Regions from separate parts of the Homo sapiens genome. Here all the other regions are linked to region 1. Evidence: promoter capture Hi-C in 16 types of primary human blood cells and fetal thymus (Javierre and others, 2016). All regions are on one chromosome and are shown on one strand. The core of a region is centred on a gene start or on the middle of the fragment in contact, and the rest is flanking DNA. Distances in the headings are between cores, read along the strand shown.

What was found. The method cuts DNA at HindIII sites, captures the fragments that hold promoters and counts their contacts. A CHiCAGO score of 5 or more calls a contact.
Region 2: a contact is called between the fragment with the promoter of TTPAL here and the fragment with the promoter of OSER1 in region 1, in 15 of 17 cell types (megakaryocytes, erythroblasts, fetal thymus and 12 more). The highest score is 19.1, in megakaryocytes.
Region 3: a contact is called between a fragment that was not itself captured here and the fragment with the promoter of OSER1 in region 1, in 1 of 17 cell types (fetal thymus). The highest score is 5.6, in fetal thymus.
Region 4: the fragment with the promoter of GTSF1L here is called in contact with the fragment with the promoter of OSER1 in region 1 in 2 of 17 cell types (non-activated CD4 T cells and naive CD8 T cells); the score reaches 8.4 in non-activated CD4 T cells.

What each region holds. Positions count from the first base shown.
Region 1 is chr20:44,208,173-44,213,579 of GRCh38, reverse strand. It overlaps OSER1 (oxidative stress responsive serine rich 1), which reads left to right and starts at 2,809. Exons shown (of 4, transcript NM_016470.8): 1 at 2,809-2,884. It overlaps OSER1-DT (OSER1 divergent transcript), which reads right to left and starts at 2,620. Exons shown (of 3, transcript NR_038339.2): 1 at 2,503-2,620. RefSeq lists silencers at 2,407-2,855, 3,051-3,120 and an enhancer at 2,780-3,399. The HindIII fragment of the contact is 3,146 bases long and covers 1,764-4,909 here.
Region 2 is chr20:44,472,278-44,477,623 of GRCh38, reverse strand. TTPAL (alpha tocopherol transfer protein like) reads right to left here and starts at 1,750. Exons shown (of 5, transcript NM_001039199.3): 1 at 1,633-1,750. RefSeq lists a silencer at 1,645-1,774 and an enhancer at 1,865-1,954. The HindIII fragment of the contact is 9,114 bases long and covers 859-5,346 here.
Region 3 is chr20:44,635,135-44,640,599 of GRCh38, reverse strand. ADA (adenosine deaminase) reads left to right here. Exons shown (of 12, transcript NM_000022.4): 2 at 4,312-4,373. Among named protein-coding and RNA genes, the nearest start is that of ADA, 14 kb to the left of the region's middle. RefSeq lists enhancers at 3,926-5,465, 1-5,465. The HindIII fragment of the contact is 842 bases long and covers 3,088-3,929 here.
Region 4 is chr20:43,723,586-43,729,429 of GRCh38, reverse strand. GTSF1L (gametocyte specific factor 1 like) reads left to right here and starts at 2,428. Exons shown (of 1, transcript NM_176791.4): 1 at 2,428-3,266. The coding sequence starts at 2,736. The coding sequence ends at 3,182. LOC101927200 (a long non-coding RNA gene) reads right to left here and starts at 511. Exons shown (of 4, transcript XR_936741.3): 1 at 303-511. The HindIII fragment of the contact is 9,111 bases long and covers 1-5,443 here.

The DNA of each region.
Region 1 (5,407 bases), core at 1,560-4,059:
TCATTTAAAAAAGTATATCGAGGTAAGAAATAAATTAATTTGAGTCTTAAAACATAAGAACAGAATATTTTCCAGATTACCAACTGGTAGGATGGCAGCCACATGGTTAGGCAAATAATTTTCTTTATTACTTTGGACTTGGCTTCTCCAAAGTTATTTTTTAAGAGAAACTATTATCTTCCTATATAAATTGTTCTTGCAGTATAAATTCATGGAATTAAGTCTCTCTTACTAAAGCATGTACAAGACACTTGTAGCAAGAAAGAAGCACTGTTAGAGGAATTTTACATCTACCACAGCTTTTTAATTAAATGGCATTACCATGTGCATTAATACAAAGTTGATTTCTTCAATATAAAGTCCACACACAAATTCAGGTTTTTTTCCCATGGTTAAAAAGACTTGGAATTGCTGGTATAGGACACCGATCTGGCTTTTTGTTCACTCAGATCCATCCCATTTTGTAGCTTTTCTATCTCTTTCCAAGTCATGATGTATCACACCGTGAGCCAGTCCTATGTATAATGACTTAAAACTTCAGGCCACGTCAGGTGTGTGAGTTAACAGGCTTCAGCATTCACAAGAGGTTCCCACCTTCCAAGTACTCCCCGAGTAATGAGTCACATTCTTGGAAAGCATCTAACTCTTTATGATGGAGATGTGCTTACATAAAATGAAATACTGTAACTTTTTAGTTTTTGGTATTTAATATAATTAGGGATGGAAAGCAGGTAAAATGAGAATTCACCAAAACTGTATTGAGCATCTACTAATCCCCAGGAAGTGTGCTAAGCCCTGGGAATTCAATCACGATCCAGACAATTCTTTCCCCTCAAGGATATATGAGATTTTTTTTTTTTTTTTGAGACAGTTTTGCTCTGTTGGCCCAGGCTGGAGTGCAGTGGCGCAATCTCGGCTCACTGCAACCTCCGCCTCCCGGCTTCAGAGATTCTCCTGCCTCAGCCTCCCGGGTAGCTGGGATTATAGGTGCATGCGCCACCATGCCCAGCCAATTTTTCATATTTTTAGTAGAGAAAGGGTTTCGCCATGTTGGCCAGGCTGGTCTCAAACTCCTGACCTCAAGTGATCCACCCGCCTCGGCCTCCCAAAGTGCTGGGATTATAGGCATGAGCTACCGTGCCAGGCCTTCTCAAGGATATATGAGATTTTATCTTAAGTTATATTTTGAAGTGGCAGCTTAAAAAGACATGTTTGGTTTTGATACATTTCACTTGGCAAGGTCTGAGAAAATAAATACATCATATTTCCCGCTTTTTCTTGTCCAAGAGATGTTGAGAAGGGCAGTTTAAATCCTGACTTACTAGCACTGTGAGACAGGACAAAGGCAGCTAGAACAAGTTATCTGATCTCTAACATAATCTAATGCTATCTAACTAGCATCATTAGGTTACAATGAACAGTTTTCTTTCAACCGGTCAGTTACTGAGCCTCTGGTATGAACGACGAGAATTTAAAATGTTTTATCCAGGGCCAACATCATGCTTCATGTTTAACAACGTTATACAATAAATTGTTAGATTTCATTTACAGACATAGGCCAGGCATTCCAAAGCCTGGCTGTAGTTAAGCTGGACACAGTTAAACCATCTTCGGCAGCCTATCTAGTTGACTACAACTAAGGTATTGGGGAATGACGGTGGATGGGGCCAGTTTTGGTTCAGGGAAAAACCCTCACTCTAGGGGTGGGCCACAATCAACGCCATCCAACTCAATTGCGCAAAATCATCTGTTCTCACGAAGCTTTGAGCAGTGCAGACGTGGAGCTGGAGATTGGCAGGCGAGGAGAGGCACAGCTAGATCAGCAGAACCAGTCCTGGTGATGGAGCGGGTGGCAGCTGTTGCACAGATCACCTTTTCCCGCCTACCATCTGAGCAACATTCAGAATCAGAAAAATGTAAAGAATCCTAAAATTCATCTCCTTTGGTGAACTGCCTAAATCTTTTTGCAAAATTTGGTGTGTAGGTGCATTTCTTTGGCAAGAGGATCTACAGTTCTCACCAGATTCTCAAAGGAGTCTACGCCTGAAAACACGAGATTCACCGATAAGGTTCAACTTCCTCACTTACTAGATGGAAAACTGAGAGGCCCAAAGGAGGAAAAGCAGTTGCCTCAAGACAAACAGCAGAGATATCAAAACCGAAGGCATTTCAATTCAATTCTAATTCTGGCTTCACACTATTGACCCTGGCCACGTCCAATACCTCTTCACTTCTCTGCAGGACCTAAAAGATCACCAGGAGGCGAGGGCTGGTGTCCGAGTCCCGGAGAGGTCGCAGGCAGTCCAGATTCTAGCATCACAGAAACTCTGGCCAAGCGCTCAGCCGGGGATTGTCTGCCATAAAGACCCCCGCACCCTGTCCTCGCCCCCGCCCCGTGGAATTCCTCTGCATAGGTGACTCCACGTAGAGGACCGAGCGCAAGGAGATCCCGGGGCGGTGGAGGCAGAGGACTACTGTGAAGAATGACGCCTACTCACTCACCTAACAGAGAGGAGGAAGCAGGCACGCCCCAAAAGCGGGTCGGGAGCAAATCCACGCCACTGGGAGGAGGCAAACCGAAGAATAACAGGAAATTACGTAAGGCGCACGTGCTTCTGAGGGGGGCGGGTGCGGGGCGTTGGAGAGGCGCGGCCGCCGCCCTGCGTCTGCGCAGTCGTCGGCTGCCGCGCTGCCGAGTCACTGGGGTGGGAGGAGCATAAGCAGGGGGAGGGGTGCATGCCGGAGTGCGCAGGCGCAACGCGACTCCCGAGGCGCGGGCCGCCCCCTTGGCTGGTTTGGATCCGGGTCAGTCGGGTGCCGAGATTTGGGAGAGACGCTCTGAACTGACTGCCCCGCATCACCGGAGCGTCCCAGCTGCGAGGAGGTAAGTGCCCTGACGTGACGGGGAGGGGCCGCAGCACTGCGTCTCAGCTTCCACTGCCGGTCTGGCCGCGGGCGGTTTTCCCCGGGCCCGCCCGCCTTGGGTCGCGTCGTCTCCCGACGCCTCCTGCCTGGGCCGGGCCTGGGCCTCTCCGCGCCCCCTTATCTGCCGCGGCCTGTGCCTGCTGGAGCTCCGAGCTCCACGCTCTCTCCCCTTCCCGCCTTCCCGTCCTCCCGCGGTCCCCCGCCCCGTCTCGCTCCTCCGCCGTCTCCCGCCCAGCGGCAGCTTCCCCTTTTCGCCCTCCTTGGCCGCCCTTTGCCCCTTCCAGTCCTTTCTCTCTCGCCTCGGAGCCCCATTCTCTTTGGCTACCTCTTCGGCCCCACTCCTTTCTTCTCCCGCATCCCTTGTGCCTCGCTCCGACTCCAGCCTCTCGTTCTGACCCCAGGAATCTCCCGAGGAGCGCAACTTCACAGCTGGAGACCCCGGGCGGGCAGTGCCCCTGGACAGCTCCCTGCTTGGCGTTGTCCCCACACTCCAAGCCCCGTCCTACCCCTCTGGGTTCTGACTAGGAATTTTCCTCCGTTCATGTTTAACCGCGACAGGCACAGACTCTGGGTGAAAAGAAAGAACTTTGTGCTTTGGCTGCAGCGCTGCGAGTATAAAGGGATGAGTGGGTTGCACGGAGAGGTGTGAATGTGCTTTTTGTCCTGGGGGCCGATTGTTTCCTCCCGGTCTAGTTTGCCTCTTAGAGTTGCTGGGTTTGGTTTTCTTCCCCATACTCTACGCTTTCTGGTGGTCTGGGAGTTTCGAAATCTTTAATGTTGTGATGACAACGCTTACCCGCGCATCCCTTCTTGATCGTTCTTAGGTCTTCTCAGGGGCCTGGAAGTGTAGACCTAGGCTTGGGATTCAAGGAGGTCTTGGTTAAAACGGCAAGATGTAAATAAGATTGTGACGCATCCATTTTGTTGAAAGAAAAAACCAGGAATTTGGCCTTTTGATGGAGGAACTTAGAAGAACTTTGTAATTTTTGTAAGGTTGTGGAAAATCCGAGGCAAAGTTAAATTGCCTGGTGTGATTTGACTTTAACTTCGAATAGGCTTTTTAAAGTTTCATCTCTTTGGAGATTGTTCAACTTCACGAGTTCACTGCAGTGAAAACGCCAAGACTGTCTCCCACAAATTTAATATTAATGAAGAAAGGCAAGCCAATTATATCTGTTGTCCGGAGTTAGTTGTACAGCCCTTTCTTTGAATGGGGATCTGGGGATGCAGAGGAGCATAATGAGCCTTTTATAATTACAAACATGCTCTTCTCTAGCTCTTAAGGTTATGCCTAACGCTCATTTGCTCTTGGCTAAAATAACTGAGAAAAAAAGTGAGTAGTAAAAAAATGCTGGAAGTCTGAAAATGGTTTAGACAGAACTTCATTCCTGAAGTTTTAGTCTGTAGCCAGATTTTAATTCTGGCCTGTTTTGGTTTTTAGATGATAGATCTTTTAGTGTGTCAACAGGAATGTAAAGTTTGTATTAACATCTAGGGTGATCACCTGCCATGCTATTAAGTCAGCATGGTATAATTAAAAGTTACATATGTAGGTTCAGAGCCTCTTAGCACAGTGTTACATTGTAAGCTCTTGGAGGGCAGGAATGAGATTCTAGTCCTTACGGAAATGGAGTTTGGGCTTCTATCCCTAGCATTCATTCTAGTGCCATGCACGTGGTAGGAATTCTGTAAATATTTGTGAAAGAAATGAATTTCTGCCTGTAGGGTTCAGCAGTGTATACTTAAATGTGATGTGTACGTAAATGCTGACTGATTTCCAGAGAGGGCTAAAGAGGACTTGGGGGGCGGTCTGCGGGTTGGGGAGATTGGCTCAGATGATTTATGAACTCGGTAAGAGCTGAACATTGACTAACGGATCATAAGGTAATTGAGGAACATTGTAAGTCAAACTTCAATTTAGTTCTACCAGCAGGAAGGATTTGTTTACAACCTGCAATAGTACTCTTTTAGATGATGTGAAGCTTTGAAAATATTGAAATAAGTGATTGCTCACCTCTCCCCCCAGGTATATAGGAATTGATTGTGTATTTGGGGGATCCTACCCTAAACTGAGAATTAGAGACTAGTGAAGCATGGGATTGTGTGGATAATGTTTCTTCATGTTTATGTACTTAAATAAACCAGCAAAATATACGTCGAGAATGTATCTAAATTATTTTTTTGTCCTAAGAAGTTGAGGTGCAGGCTGGCTGAATTTTTTTTTTTTTTTTTAGTAGCTGAATTCTTTTGAGACTGTTTTCAGTGTTCCCCAGAGAGCTCTGCCTAAAATACCTTAACTTCCGCAAATAAGTAAAGTGAAAAGTCCTGATTCCTTGCCTCTTTATTTTGCGCTGGTACTACAATAATATAATGGTTACTTTATATCAAACATTATGACACCTTGACCTTTGGAATATTAGAGGTCTCACAATAACTTCGGAGCCACCTTGAGAAACGAGCAGATATGAATCAGAGAGGACCC
Region 2 (5,346 bases), core at 501-3,000, 270 kb before region 1:
AAAATATATTTTAAAAGGACCAATCTGCTGTCTTGAGAATGGACTCTAAGGGAGTGAGGACTGAAGCAGACCATTTAGAGGCTATTGCAATAATCCAGCTGAGAGATGCTGGTGGCCTGGAGTAGGTAGCCTTCACTGACCCCCAGCCAGGTTAGGTGCCTCCCCCGCACTTCTCCCACCCTGTTGCAATTGTCTGTTGGCAATTTGTGAGCAACATCCAAGTTTGTCTTGTTCATCACCTGAAACCCAGCGCCTAACATGGTGTTAGACACATAATCTGCACTCCATAAATATTTGTTGAATGACTTTAGTCTGGTTGGCACAGGTATGCTAAGTGAGGAATGGAACAACTATGGCTTTGTTTCTATGGAAGTAACCAAGAGATGCCTGCAATCCCATCAAACATCAGTGTTCACAAGGTACAAGCCTCACCTCAAAGCCCCTCTCCAGCCTCATTTTCCATCGCACCCCACCTTGATGCACATTAAATGCCAGTCAAAACAAACTAATAACCCATCATCCTTGGAATAACTCGTGCACTTCTGATACACTCTGCCTGGAATTTCCTCTTCTAATTTGTTCCTAACTTGACAGCTCAGGCTCAGCTGCCATGTCACCACCTCAGTGAATCCTTCCCAAACTCCCTGAGGGTGATTCCCTCCAGTTTTCCACAGAACTGGGTTCCTATTTCTTTTTTAGAAATTACAGTCCAATGCTATGGGCATTTATCTAGAGTCAGTTTCACCACGCACTCATTTATCAAATAATTACCGATCACCTACCATATATGTCAGGCACTGTGCTCACAGGCACTGGGAACACAGACGCAAACAATACAATTCCTTGCCTAATAAAGCTTACATTATAGTGGAATGAAGAGAATGCATACTTGAGCATTTTACCATGTATCAAGCATTGCTAAGCCCTTTACCCATTTCCTCATTTAATCTTCACGTTATTTGGTGAGAGCGCTATTACTGTTGCCATTTTACAAAGGAGGACAAAAAGGACTGTCCCCTAGAATCTAAGTTCCACGAGGGCAGAGGGCTTGTCTGCCATGTCCACTGCCACCCCCAGTGCCGGGCACATGGCAGTGGTCTGTACACATCAGCGGAGGATATAGGTTAAGCGATTCGCCCAAGGGGGCACACCCGGTGAGGCAGAGCAAGGATGCGTCTAGCCCCACCCTGGGCTTCTAATCTGTACCCTCCACCTGGAGCTTCATGTTGACTCTCCAGGGACTCAGCAGTGCCGAGCGCTCAGCAGGACTCAGTCACAGGCTGGTGAATGAGCTGACAGGCGGACATATGAGTGAGATGCAGACACCATTGGTAACGGTGAAGCCAAAGATCTCCCCCACCTGGAGCCCATCCTTTCTGGAGCATCACTTTCCTTTCCACCCCTTCCTCTCAACAAGGAGAGGTCAGGAAGCCATCTCTCCTAGAGCCCCCGAGACCCCATATCCCGTGGACAACCTTCCGAGGCCCCCACTTCCGGCTGTCACCCCCTCCCCAGGTGTCCCCATTTCCTGGGGTCTCTCGCTCCTCTGGTCCCCACTTCCGGTTATCCTTCCCTCTCAGGGGTCCCTCTCCTCAGCTCCCAGGGCACACGGATGGGCTCGCGGGCACTCACCGGCCCGACTACGGGCGGAGCGCGGGTCAATCGGCGGCGGGAGCCTCGTCCGGCAGCGCACGCAGAACCGACCCGCACTCCCTGCCCGGCCTGCCCGGCCTCTCGCGCCGGAAGTGACGATCCAGGGCGTGGGAGGCGGGGCTCCGCCTAGGAGCGCGCATGTGCGACGCCTCCCCGCGGCGTTGGTGTTCAGTCCCCACCTGGCTGCCGGAGCTCCGAGCTGCGGACCTGGAGTGGCTGGGAGGAGCTGGGGCACCAGCCGCTTGTCAAACCCGGCTTATAGATGGGGAAACTGAGGCTCAGAGAAGGAAGGAAAGAAGCTGCCATTTTCCAAGAACATGCTAACATGTACCTGTTGTTTAACATCCATGATCTCATTAACTCCTCATATTTATGCAATTCCCCTATTTCAGGAAAGGGAAACTGGCAATCAAGGCAGTAAAGGGCTTCAAACCCGGACCTCAGGATTAGCATTCTAGACTTCCCCCCACTATGGCTGCTATCAGGACTAGCTGCTCCAAAAAGGGAGACTCCAAACCAGGGGACATCTGTCTGTCATTAACTGAGTGACCTGGAGCAAGTCCCCATTCCTTCTTGTGCTTCCGTTTCCTTACCTGAAACCTGATTCTTGCTCTGGAGCCTGATTCAATAATTACTTTTTTCCTGCTTTGGGGTTCATTACGTTCCCTCCAGACAAAGGCTTTACTAACTCCCACCCCAGTCCATTAAGATCCGCCCGCAAGTATTTTGTGCAACTGCAACTTTGAGGCAAATCTCCTAGGTCCCTCTGAGGCAGAACCTCTGGTGGTCCAGGAGAACTCTGAGCCTAAAGAAACGACCTTAAACAGTCTTTTCATTTTCCTACCCCAGGGGCAAGAGGAGTCCCAAGAAGATGGGAAGTGACCCATGAGGGCCACAAGAACGTGGCAGTTTCTGCCAGATTGAGGGGCAGGGGGCAGCAGTATGGAGGCGACCTGGGAATCATGAGTTTTGACTCCTGCTCTCAGTTTCATCACTTCTAAGATTGACAGACAAAATATATAACATTCACTACAGTTTGAATTTCAGATAAACATTTAAGCATGTTCCTTTCCAAACACACACACACATACACACAGATAAGTGTGTCCTATGCAACATTTGGGACACATTTATACTTTAAAAATTGTTGTTTATAGGAAATTCAAATATGACTACTGGGCATCCTGGATTTTGTTTTGTTTGCTAAATCTATGTATTATTTTCCTGTTACTGTTACAAGGAATTACTGCAAACTTCATGGATTGAAACAACACAGATATATTCTCTTGCAGTTCTCTAGGTCAAAAGTCTAAAATCAAGGTGTTGGCAAGGCTGCATTCTTTTGGGGATTTGGAGGAAGCATCAGTTCCTTTCCTTTTACAGTTTGTAGAGGCCACCTGCATTCCTTAGCTTATGGCCCCTTCTTCAAATCACCTCAACCTCTGGCTTCTGTTGTCACCTCTACTACTGACTGATCCTCCTGCTTCCCTCTTCTTATAAGGACTCTTGGGATTACATTGGGCTCAGCCAGATAATCCAGGATAATCTTACCATCTCAAGATCCTTACATTAATCACATCTGTGAGATCTTTTAAAACGTAAGGTAAGGCCGGGTGCAGTGGCTCACGCCTGGAATCCCAGCACTTTGGGAGGCTGAAGCAGGTGGATCACTTGAGATCAGGAGTATGATGAGACCACCCCAGCCAACATGGTGAAACCCTGTCTCTACTAAAAATACAAAAATTAGTTGGGCGTGGTGGCACACGCCTGTAATCCGAGGCCCCCACTTCCGGCTGTCACACCCAACTATGCGGGAGCCTGAGGCAGGAGAATCACTTGAACCCAGGAGGCAGAGGTTGCAGTGAGCCGAGATCATGCCACTGCCCTCCAGCCTGGGCGACAGAGCGAGACTCTGTCTCAAAAAGAAAACCCCCCAAAACAGCCGGATGTGGTGGCTCATGCCTATAATCTCAGCACTTTGAGAAGCCAAGGCAGGTGGATCACCTGAGTTCAGGAGTTCGAGACCAGCCTGGCCAACCTGGTGAAACCCTGTCTCTACTAAAAATACAAAAATTAGCCAGGCCTGTAATCCCAGCCACCTGGGAGGCTGCCTGGGCTCAAGCCATTCTCCTGCGCCCTGCCAAATGGCAGCTCTTGTGGCAAAGGGTGAGGGATGACCCTGTCCTAACCAGGCTGTCCTAGGTATTGGAATAAATTCACCCCTCTCCTTAACCCAAACCTAGGACCTACTACTGGTACCTGGAGCCCAGATGGCAATCCTAGATGTTGCCAGCAGGAGAAGAACTTGGTCTCAAGGGCAGGGCAGGGAGAGGATTCAGAGATGCCCCAGAAATCCCTGCCTCTTCCCTCAACTGAGGGCCATTATTTCTTGTTCCTCTTGGTATTACATTTTAGAGAACCAGATTATATCAGGATTAGAACATCTCCGATAAACAATGACAACAAAAAGAGTTTCTGCTTTTTGAATTATATATACCAGGCACTGTGCTTGTATGATCTTAATTTCACCTTACAATGACCCTGTGAACAGCGAGCTAGGATTGTCCCATTTACAGAAGAGGAAACTAAAATCCAGAAAGAGGCCAGGCTTGGTGGCTCATGCCTGTAATCCCAGCAATTTGGGAGGCCAAAGTGGTGGATCACTTGAGGTCAGGAGTTTGAGACCAGCCTGGCCAACATGGTGAAATCCCGTGTCTACTAAAAATACAAACATTAACCAGGCATGGTGGCAGGCGCCTGTAATCCCAGCTACTCTGGAGGCTGAGGCAGGAGAATCACCTGAACCCGGGAGGTGGAGGTTGCAGTCAGTCAAGATTGTGCCATTGCACTCCAGGCCGGGCAACAGAGCGAGACTCCATCTCAAAAAATAATAATAAAATAAAATAATGTAAAATATTCAGAAAGAGAAAGTCTCCTAAGGGCTCAAGATATGAAAGAGAGAGCTAGGTATCAATTCAAGCCTGTATGACACCATGGTCCCAAATTTTACTTTGTCCTAAAGGTCATGTAGCCCTGTCTCTGTTTCTACAGGTTGGGAAAAAGGATCAGAGAAGGACAAAAAATTGCCCAAAGTCACATGATGACTAAGTGTTTGAGCTGGTATTTGATGTCTGTCTTCTCTGCCTTGGACACTCAGAATTTATGGAGTCTGAACAACCTCTTGAAAAGACTCATTTCCTTATGTATAAAATGGGGATATGGCCTTTGTTTAGAGGGGATCCTTGGGAGGATGTCATAGAACGGCATGTGCAGGTCGAGCACGGTGGCTCACATCTGTAACCCCAGCACTGTGGGAGGCTGAGGCGGGCGGATCACTTGAGGCTAGGAGTTTGAGACCAGCCTGGCCAACAGGGTGAAACCCTGTCTCTACTAAAAACACAAAAAAACAAGCTGGGTGTGGTGGCACACGCCTGTAATCCCAGCTACTCAGGAGGCTGAGGCAGGAGAATCGCTTGTACCGGGGGGCAGAGGTTGCAGTAAGCCGAGATCATGCCACTGCACTCCAGCCCGGGCAACAGAGTGAGACTCTGTCTCAAAAAAAAAAAAGAATGGCATGTGCAGAGTTCTGGCACATTGTATCATGAAATGTCTGTTTATCGGTGATGATCACCCCCTCTCAAGCAGAAAGATCACCAGGGGGCGGCTTGCCCTGTGTCTTGGTTTGGAAGGTTT
Region 3 (5,465 bases), core at 2,259-4,758, 430 kb before region 1:
TGCCCCCAGGTTCAAGCAATTCTCCTGCCTCAGCCTCCTGAGTAGCTGGGATTATAGGTACCTGCCACCATGCCCAGCTAACTTTTGTATTTTTAGTAGACATGGGGTTTCACCATGTTGGCCAGGCTGGTCTCGAACTCCTGACCTCAGGTGATCCACCCGCCATAAGTTAATATTTTTTTTTTGAGAGGGAGTATTGCTCTGTTGCCCAGGCTGGAGTGCTAGTGGCTCAATCTCGGCTCACTGCAACCTCCGCCTCCCAGGTTCAAATGATTCTCCTACCTCAGTCTCCTGAGTAGCTGGGACTACAGGTGCATGCCACCATGCCTGGCTGATTTTTGTATTTTTAATAGAGAGGGGATTTCACCATGTTGGCCAGGCTGGTGTTGAACTCCTAACCTCAAGTGATCCACCCACCTCAGCCTCCCAAAGTGTTGGGATTACAGGCATGAACCACCACGCCCGACCCATATAAGGTAATATTTACAGGTTCTGGGGATTAGGATTAGCATGTAGACAGCTTTGTGGGGGCCACCATTCAGCCCACTATGCTAACCCTGTGAACCGTTGCTCGCTTCTCCTTGACATCTGACGGCCTGGCCTTCTGCATACCACACACCCTCCCACCTCTCTGGCCACAGTTCTGTAGGCTCAGCCTCCTCCGTAAGGCCATTAAGTGCTTGTGCTGGTCAAAGTTTCATCCTAGGCCTTTTCCTTACCTCCCTTGATATTTTCTCCCTAGGTGAGCTCCTTCAAGCCCACAGCTTCTGTGCTTACCCACACTCCTACCTACATTCCCAGCTTGGGCTTCTCAGGCCAGCTCTAGACTCTTGTATCCCACTGGGTTCTTCCACTTACCTTTGGATATCTCAAAGGCATCTCCAGTTGGCTGGGCACGATGGTTCACACCTGTAACCCCAGCACTTTGGGAGGCCGAGGTGGGCAGATCACTTGAGGTCAGGAGTTCAAGACCAGCCTGGCCAATATGGTGAAACCCCATCTCTACTAAAAATACAAAAATTAGCTGGGCATGGTGGTGGGTGCCTGTAGTCCCAACTACTCGGGAGGCTGAGGCAGGAGAATCGCTTGAACCCGGGAGGTGGAGGTTTCCGTGAGCTGAGCTGGAGCCACTGCACTCCAGCCTGGGCAACAGAGTGAAACTCCGTCTTAAAAAAACAAAAAACAAAAGGTGTCTCTAGTGTAACATAACTAAAACCAAACCAATCATGCCTCCCTCCCCCGCATCCTCCCTCCTGGAGGGAGCTCCAGGACTTGGTCTTCTCTTCCAGAGTTCTCTGTCTCAAACTGCGGGAATTGCTCCCCACCCAGGCCTAACCTGAAGTGTGAGCCTTGGCATCTCTTTCTATCCACCTGTTTTTCCTCTATGCACCTCACAACCCTGGTCCAAGCCACCGTCATCTTTCAAATGGCTGCAGTAGCCTCTAACTGGCCTTGGAGGAGCCATCCTCTTTCTCTAACCAGCTGCCAACCCTGCAATGGCCTCTGTGTGCTTTCCAGATAAAGCCTGACTCCTCGTGGCCCGCACAGCCCTGCCTGGGTGGTCCTATCCTGCAGCCTCTCCAGTACCATGAACCCTCCCTTCTCTGAACCTCTATTTAATCCATTTCATATACCCCGTTTTCTCCTGCCATAGGGCCTTGCACATGCTGTTCCTTCTGCCTGGAATTTTCTTCCTGCCTCCCTCCGCACCCCTGCCTTGTGTTGTGGGTTCCTCGCTATCCTCTAGCTTTTCGCTCAGGCTCATTGTTGGCCCTCTAGATGTATTCACTTCTCTTGTTTGTTACCCTCTGTCATAGGACTGTGTTCGTACTTCCCAAGGAGTCGTCTTGGTTTGTGACTGTACATTTTCCCATGTGACATTTGCTTAATGCCTCTCCCACTCTGGGGCCTGTACAAGCCCCAGGAACAGGACTTGGACCCTCCTGTTTAACTCTACAATCTAGCATCCAGCAGGAGCGCAGGCCTTCGTTGACTTTTATTTTATTCTTATTTTTTATTTTTGAGATGCAGTTTCGCTCTTGTCGCCCAGGCTGGAGTGCAGTGGCGTAATCTCGGCTCACTGCAGCCTCTGCCTCCCAGGTTCAGGTGATTCTCCTGTCTCAGCCTCCCAAGTAGCTGGGATTACAGGTGTGCGCCACCACGCCTGGCTAATTTTTTGCATTTTTAGTAGAGATGGGGTTTCACCATGTTGGCCAGGCTGGTCTCAAACTCCTGGCCTCAGGTGATCCACCCACCTCGGCCTCCCAAAGTGGCTGGATTACAGGCGTGAGCCCCCATGCCCAGCCTTCATTGACTTTTAGTTGACAACTATTTAGCATTTGCTATGTGCCAAGAACTCCCTGCCTACTAATGCAGTTAACCCTCATGAAGCCTAGAAGGAAGGACTGCCATTCTCCCCACTTAACAGATGAGGATGCCGAGGCACAGGAAGTGAAGTGACTTTCTCAGGGTCAAGCAGGGAGTGAGTGGAGGAGCCGAGATTCCAGCTCTAACCGCATGATGCTCTATACAGTGTGACTCCGGCTCTCTGGCTGGGCCCTCTCCATAGCCCTGTGAGGGTTAAGGATAGAAAACAGAGGCTCAGAGAGTTGAGGTCCCTTGCCTGAGGTCACACAGCTGGTTGGCCGTTCCCTGGGCTATAAGCTTCAGTATTCCCAATGCTGAGCATATTTTGAGAACCCGAGAAACAGACGTTTGGCTGGGTGGGAACTGAACTCATTTTGTCAGGGAATTCAACAACTAAGTTGGCCCTGAGACTGGGTGTGAAGACCGCTCTGTCCCCTGCCAGCTGGATGACCTCAGGAGAGATCTGATGACTCTGAGGTCCTGCTGATAGGACCTCTGGTGTCTCTGTTCCCTGCTGGCCTCCCCTGGGCCTGGGTTGGGTTTCCTCTGCAGGAGGCAGCTCATGTATGTGCTCCTAGACGCCCTTGGGCCAGCAGCTCCTTGGCTGTTCCTCCCTGAGCCAGGGCAGCCAACTTTCTTATCCAGCTCTCCATGCTCCCCACCCCAGCATGAGATGTCAGCTGAGAGTTTTCTGGATCTCCCCTAGCTAGGGGGAAAGCTTCCATCATTTGGAACAGGAACAGCAGGAACAGCAAAGTCCCTTTCCCCACCATCTCCCACTGCCTGCTGTGCTTCTCCTAACAGCTCATGGTAAACACCCTGACTGAGCGGCAGGGGCTGTTTCCTTTGGGCTATCCATGTCCACCTACACTGCCCTTTTTAATCCTTACAATTTTTCTTGGACACGGGGGCATAATATTCCATTGTTTTTCAGTTGAGGAAACTGAGGCTCAGAGAGGTCAAGTGTCTTGTCTGAGGTCACACAGCAGAACTGGGAGTCAAGCCAGATGGGCTGCCTCCAAGGATCCTACTCTTAAACTCTAGAGTACTAGAAAGATCTTCCGTTGCCTAATATTGATTCCTGATAGGCTATGCTTGAGTAGCATCTGCTTTTGAAAATGGAGCCTGGGTCGGTTGCGGTGGCACATACCTGTAATCCCAGCACTTTGGGAGGCTGAGGTGGGTGGACACCTGAGGTCAGGAGTTCGAGACTAGCCTGAGCAACATGGTGAAACCCTGTCTCTACTAAAAATACAAAAATTAACTGGGCGTGGTGGCACCTGCCTATAGTCCCAGCTACTCCGGAGGCTGAGGCACAAGAATTGCTTGAACCCAGGAGGTGGAGGTTGCAGTGAGAGGAGATCATGTCACTGCACTCCAGCCTGGGAGACAGAGCGAGACTCCATCCGTCTCAAAAAAAAGAAAACGAAAATGGATCCTGAATTTTGAAATATGCTGTGACTCTTCCCTAGTTTGGGACATCTGGGTCAATCCCTTTTGTTAAAGTAGTTTATTTAGTTGGCTGAGAGCGGGAGCTGCCTACGTGACCTGGAGCACAAGCTTTGGAATTGGGCTTGGGTTAGAATTCCGCCTCTGCCACTCACCAGCTGCGATTAAGAACAAAGATACTGGGTTGGGCTCCTGCCTCTATTACTTGCAATCTGTGTGGCCTTGGATGAGATATTTAACACCTCCGAACCTCAGTGTCCTCAATTGTGAAAGAGATCGAGATAACAGCTGAACCCACATCCCAGGAGCGGATTAAATGAGATAGTGCAGTACAGAGTTTACCGAAGTATATGGGGTCAGCAGCCAGCCAGTAAAATGGTGGCTAATGGTTATCATGATTAATGTTAACATTAAGCTCTGAAAGGTCCTTCGTGAACTCATAGGTATTTGTTCTCTCTCTCCCTTTCTCTCTCTCTTCCCCCTGCCCCCTTGCAGGTGGAACTGCATGTCCACCTAGACGGATCCATCAAGCCTGAAACCATCTTATACTATGGCAGGTAAGTCCATACAGAAGAGCCCTCTCTCCCTGGGATTTGAGTGGGGTCCCCAGCTCCACCCAGAGGCCCCTGGGGAATTCCAGGGTCACTGTTCCTTCCTGTCTCCCTGTGGGAATCAAGCCAGCTCCAGGCCAGAAGTGGGACTGTGAGGACATGGAGGCCTCAGCACTGAGCTGGAGACCCGCAGACCAACTCCTGAGCTTTCTGGGCCTCTGAGTCTTGTCCTCCTGGTGTCAGGTGAGCCAGGCCTGAGCCTGCTCTCCCCACCCACCCACATACGTGCATGAAGGTAGTTCCCAGGGCTGAATCCGTCTTTTTTTTTTTCTTTTGAGATAGAGTCTTGCTCTGTCGCCCAGGCTGGAGTGCAGTGGCATGATCTCGGCTCACTGCAACCTCCACCTCCTGGGTTCAAGTGATTCTCCTGCCTCAGCCTCCTGAGTAGCTGGGATTACAAGCACATGCCACCACATCCAGCTAATTTTTGTATTTTTAGCGGAGATGGGGTTTCACATGTTGGCCAGGCTGGTCTCGAACTCCTGACCTCAAGTGATCCACCCAGCTTGGCCTCCCACAGTGCTGGGATTACAGGCATGAGCCACTGTGCCTGGCTCCTGTCTTTTGACTTAACTGAGAGCCTATATATAGCAGGTGATGTGCTCACATGAGATGCCAGTACAATTTCTTGAGCATCTCCTAGAGCTGGGCTGGGCTTTATCAGCTCATTGAATTCCTCCACGCTTGGAAGAGGAGGATACGCTCTCTGCATTTTACTGAGGAGGGAATGGGCTCAGCCAAGACAGTTGTCCACGGTCACACAAATTAATAGCAGATCAAGAGTTGAACCCAAGGCTGTCTGACCCCTAAGGCTTTACTACATCATCAGGGTCATAACCTGCTAGGAGTCACGGAAAAGTGGCTCCCCAACTCTGGGCCTAAATCTCTGCATCTTCCAAGTGAGAACACACTTCCTGCCTCAGCTCTCAGAGATGCTAGGGGGCCAGAGGGTCCCCCTGTTCCCCAGCGAGGAAGGTTCTTCCCTTCCTACCCAGACCTCAAGGGCTCACAGCAGCTCCTCTCTTAGGACCAGCTTTT
Region 4 (5,844 bases), core at 1,179-3,678, 480 kb after region 1:
GCCAGCTTGGTTTGAGGCACTAGAATTCCACTGGTCTGGGGTAAGAGCCAGATCTCAAGATCTCAAGAAGCCCCAGGAGAGCACTGAGTAAGCCATTGATCCCCCACTCTGAGCTAGGACTTTGGGTTTTCTTCCATGGGGAAGAATATGCTCCGTGTGTGTGGAGAAAAGAGAAATGAATGCTGGTGACGAGAAGGGCAGACTGGGGAAGCCCTCAGGACTTCCCAAAGTTCCTATTCTCCTCCTTCTGGGCATGTGGAAAGACCGTACCTCCTTGCTCTTTGAAGTTAGGTAGGACTTACTTTGAACCATGAAACAGTAGCGGAAGTGATGTTTATCATTTCCTGGTGGAAGCTCGCGCATGACTCCCCACATCCTCTTCCTTCTTCTAGAAGGAAGCAAGTGTTGCTATGGAGGCTCCATCAGCCTGGCTCCATTAACCACAAGGAGCAGATCCCCAATACCCCTCCCCAACCCAGAAACCTGCTTTAGACTTGAAAGTGACTCATAAGCCTTCGTTGTTTTAAGCTACTGAAGTTTTGGCACTGTACGTTATTGCAGCCTAACCTTGCCTATCCTGACTGGCACACCCAGAATAAATGGTGTAGTTATGAAAGATGCCTTTTTTTAGAATCCTTTGTCTAATCTTTTGTCTATACCTGGGTTCCCATTACAATTTCTTACTATGACATCAGTGAGTGTCATGTTGCTAAATTGTCTGCATGTCATATGATAGTAACAAGACATCCCACATGTATGATCAGTTGCAATTATGTAACAATGTAGACAAAGCCAATCACTTCAATTCTCAAAAAAGGCTGAACACCATAGCTAGGATGTGGAGAGATGGAAAAAGTGTCATTTACAATGACAAAAAAAAAAGAAAAAGAAAAAACCATAAAGCATCATAGATTAATTTTTTTTTAACGTGCAAAAAATAGAAAGAAAACTACAAAGCCTACCTGAAAAGACACCATCAATAGAGCTTAGTAAATACCAGGAAACACACACACACACATACACACACACACACTCACACACACACCTTCCCCAAGGTCACATGGCTGGTAAGTGGCAGGAGGTAGAATTTGAATACAGTCAGCTTCCTTAACCACCACCAAGAATAGGATGGGTGAGCTTTTTCTATAATGGGCCAGACAGAAAACATTAGAGGTTTCTAGGTCATCTGGATTCTGTTGCAACTACTCAAATCTAGCTCAAAAGCAGCCAATGGACAATATATAAACAAATGGGTGTGGCTGTGCTTCAATAAAACTTTATTTACAAAAGCAGATAGCCATCTGGATTTGAATCATGGGCCCATAGTTTGTTGACACATGATCTAGAATAACAAATCCTTGAAGATAGTCAAGGCTTTTGGGGGGAAAACTAATAACAAGCAGAGACTTGCTCTATCAGATATCAGCACATAAAGCTACAAAAATTATTTGGAATTGCATTATATTTATGTATCAATTTAGGATGACTATGTAATTTATGTAATTTAGTTTACAGAGAATATTCATTTATGATTTTGAGTCTTCCTATTCAGGAATATGGTATTTCTCTACTGTCACTCAGATCTTGAGAAACAATTTAACAGGGTGGGGGGTGGGAAGGAGCTCCAGGCCAATTTTTAGAAGAAATCCTACCTAACACCAGACATGTAAATAGAATGTCAGAGGACCAAAACCACTAACACCCTGAGATATGTGTCAATTGCGTCCATTCAGACTTTGGTCCAGTTCTGTGAGGGACAACGGCAGGGTCGACCTAAGATGGGGCGTTTTATAGGAAATGTTTCCCATGTTAAGCTGAACACCAAAAGGCTTCACCTTCTGCGATATATGAATAGATTTAAACCCTTCCCCCACACCCAAGGAGACTAGGCTGCTGTGGGCCTCAGCAGAGCAGAAGGGTAAAGAAAGACGGCCCTGAGAATCACATCCAAAAACCAGCCCTGGCAAAGCGCAGGGGCTCACACCTATCATCCCAGCACTTTGGGGGGCTGAGGCGGGTGGATCACCTGAGGTCAGGAGTTCAAGACCAGCCTGGCCAACATGGTGAAACCCGTCTCTACTAAAAATACAAAAAATTAGCCGGGCATGATGGCAGGTGCCTGTAATCCCAGCTACTCGGGAGCCTGAGGCAGGAGAATCACTTGAACCTGGGAGGCGGAGATTGCAGTGGGCCAAGATCGCACCACTGTACTCCAGCCTGGCAACAGAGCGAGACTCTGTCTCAAATAAAACAAAAACAAAAACAAAAAACAAATACGTACAGTTAAAAGACTTAAGTCACAACATACATCCATGAGCAATTTTAGATGGCAGCATTCCCAAAGCCATCCACCCCTCCCAAGCAGTGCACAATAGCCTCTTCCTGATGACTTAGGCTGCCCATTGTGACCACCGGTGACTGCAGCTTGACATCATAGTATATCCGTGAGTCAAGCGGCTGTGGGTTTTTGGCTCTTGCATCTGCTATAGTTCTGTCTCGGGTGCCATTTGCTAACTCTGTTCTCTGTGTAGCTGCTTTTGGCAGCTCCTCATCTCTCTTCTAATCCACCACTCACAGTCCTAGAGAACAGACCACAAGTTAAGACCGTCACCTACAGAATCCCAAGGGCCAAAACTGGGCAGAGGACAACTCCATCCTTCTTACAAAAGGGCTTCTCCACAAGAAGCATTTCCGTTAGACTCTAGCAGTGAGATACCCTGCTTCAAGAATTTCTCATGGAGCCAGAAGCCTTTGAAATTTGCCCTTATGATCCTCACCACCGAATCCCACTCAGCAGATTCCAGTACCACCTGGCATCGTGCAGGAGAAAGAACCCCAAGAAAGCCAAAAAGATGGCCACCTGCAAATACAACGCCTGCCACGTGGTCCCCATCAAAAATCTGGAGGAACATGAGGCTGTTTGTGTCAACAGGAGCGCTGTGGAAGAAGAGGACACCGAGAACCCTCTGAAAGTCAGTCCTCCTAGTTCAGAGCAGAACGATGACACCCAGCAGGTCTCACCCTGCCTTCCCAGCCCCGATATCTGGAATGTCGATGGCGCTAATTGCCAGCATGTGTTTGTCCTTAAGACTTTTTTTCCTCAAAAGGTTGTTTGTGAAAATGACACGAAAGAGTCAGCAAGAGAGACCAGTCCCCAGAAGATCCTCAGACCAGGACAGTAAACTGCCAGCTGAGGAAGGAGCACACGCCTCATCAATGCATGGAAGAACGTGCAATGCATCAGAATAAAAGACATGCAAAGTAAACTACCCTGGGCTACCTCTTTTTTTAACCTGGCAGATTGATAAATATCAAAAGGCTTAAAATACTCTGCTGGCAAAGGTAGGGCAAAATGGGCACTTTCATAACATTGGTGAGAATGTCAGTTGGTACAACCTCCACAGAGGGCAATTTGACAATAGCTATAAACATTATCAATGCATACAGGCTTTGATTGAGCAATTCCACTTCCAGGCTTCATTCTGTAAATATAATCACACATGTGGAAAATGAGCTAAGTACTAGCTTATTCACTGCAGCATTATTTGCAGCAGCAAAAGAGTTAGAAATGAGCCAGGTGTGTTGAATCACAGCTGTAGCCTGTTACTCTGGGAGCTGAGGCGAGAGGATCGCTTGAGTTCAGCCTGGGCAACATAGTGAGATCCTGTCTTAAGCAACAAAAAAAAAAGTCAAAAATGACCTAAATATCCATTAAAAGGGCCTGATTAAAAATAAGTTATACTGCAGCCATACAACAAAATATTATGCCGCCTTAAAAAAAGTGAGGAAGCTCTTTCTGTGCTGATATAGAAAGGTTGAGACACACTGTTGAGCTCAGAGGTCAGCAAACTGTTTCTGTAAAAGGCCAGATGGCAAATATCTTAGCCTTTGTCAGCCACACAGTCTGTGTTGCAACTACTCGGCCCTGCCACTGCAACACGAGAGCAGCCACATATAATATGTAAACAAATGAACAGAGGTTCCAATAAAATGCCTTACAGCCACAGGTGGCAGGCTGGACTTGACTGGTGGGCCATGGTTTGCCAACCCCCAGTTTAACTGATAAAAACCAAGTCCAGGCCGGGCCCGGTGGCTCATGCCTGTAATCCCAGCACTTTGGGAGCCGGAGGCGGGCCAATCACCTGAGGTGTGGAGTTCGAGGCCAGCCTGGCCAACATGGCAAAACCCCATCTCTACTAAAAATACAAAATTTAGCCGGGCGTGTGGTGGGCACCTGTAATCCCAGCTACTCAAGAGGCTGAGGCAGGAGAATAGCTTGAACCCGGGAGCAGAGGCTGCAGTTAGCCGAGATCACGCCATTGCAATCCAGCCTGGGTGACAGAGCGAGACTTTGTCTCAAAAAAAAAAAAGGAAAAAGAAAAGAAAAAACAAAAACAAGTCCAGAGCAGTCTATACAGTATGCCACCATTTGGGGAGAGTTGCGGGAGAAGACATGAATATGTATGTGCTTGTTTTTGCATAAAATTTCTCTTTAAGGATACTCTAGAATGGAGATCTGTCCACAAAGCCTGAAATTTTTCAACCTGTTGCCTAATAGAAAAATTTGCTTGCCTCTTCACTAGAAACTGATATTGTCTGCCTCCAGGGAAGACAAGAGAGAGCCCTTCTTTACTATTGACTCTTTAGAATCTTTTACATGGGAATATATATGAATATGTTATCTGGTCAAAAATTAAACTATATTTTTTTAAACAGCAGGTAGAAGACTTAAGTCCTTTGAAAGTTTTTCAGGAGGAAATCTTAACTGTTAAGTTTTTTTTTTGTTTTTTTGTTGAGACAGAGTCCTCGCTCTGTCGCCCAGGCTGGTGTGCAGTGGCGCAATCATAGCTCACTGTAGCCTCAACCTCTAAGGCTCAAGCAATCCTCTCGTCAAAGCCTAACAACTAGCTGGGACCACAGGCGTGCACCACCATAACTGGCTAGTTCTATTTTTTTGTAGAGATGGGGTCTCACTATGTTGCCTAGGCTCACTGCTTTTTTTTTTTTTTTTTAAGTAATCATAACTTTGCCACCCAGCTGGCCCCTTCAACTGCTTACACGAAGTATTATAAACAAAGACTTCTTGGGGGGATAAAAAGTTCTGGATGGCAGTGATTAATGAAGTGCATGAACTAGAGAACTGACATACAGGAAATAGGGGGAAAAAGTGATGTGGAGAATATATGTCTATAAACCATAGGCCAACAGGACCAGGAAAACTTACTCTTCCTGAAACTCCCTGAATTGGGCCATAAGGGAGTGAGCCTAGTGGAAGCGCTACCCACAGGGGCTCTGTCAAGACAGAGCAAGATAGAGCTGACGTCTGTCACTATGTAGTGGCAGCCTGGAGCATTCTGTAGGTATCCTCCAAGCTCCCAAAAGGCAGCTGGCCACCAGGCAGTGGGGAAAGGCAGCCCCACCAACCCTGGGCAACAGGCAAGCTTTGCAGGTTCATGCTGAGGGTTCCTGGCAAAGAGAGTGCGGTGGAAAAGCTGTGTCTTGGGGCAGAGGGTGCTCTGGCTGGCAGAGGAAGAAGAGAGAGGAACTATATTCAGGTCAGGTGCCTTGCTGAAATAATTCCATTAAATCCAGGCCACAAAACTGAGGAGCAAGTATTTTTATCTCCAATATACAGATATGAAAAGTGAGTTTCAGAAAAGCTAAATGACAGCCGGGTGTGGTGGCTCACACCTGTAATTCCAGCACTTGAGGAGGCCAAGGTGGGCAGATCACTTAAGGTCAGGAGTTCAAGGCCAACATGGCGAAACCCAGTCTCTACTAAAAATACAAAAAAATTATCTGGGCATGGTGGTGTGTGCCTGTAATCCCAGCTCCTCGGGAGGC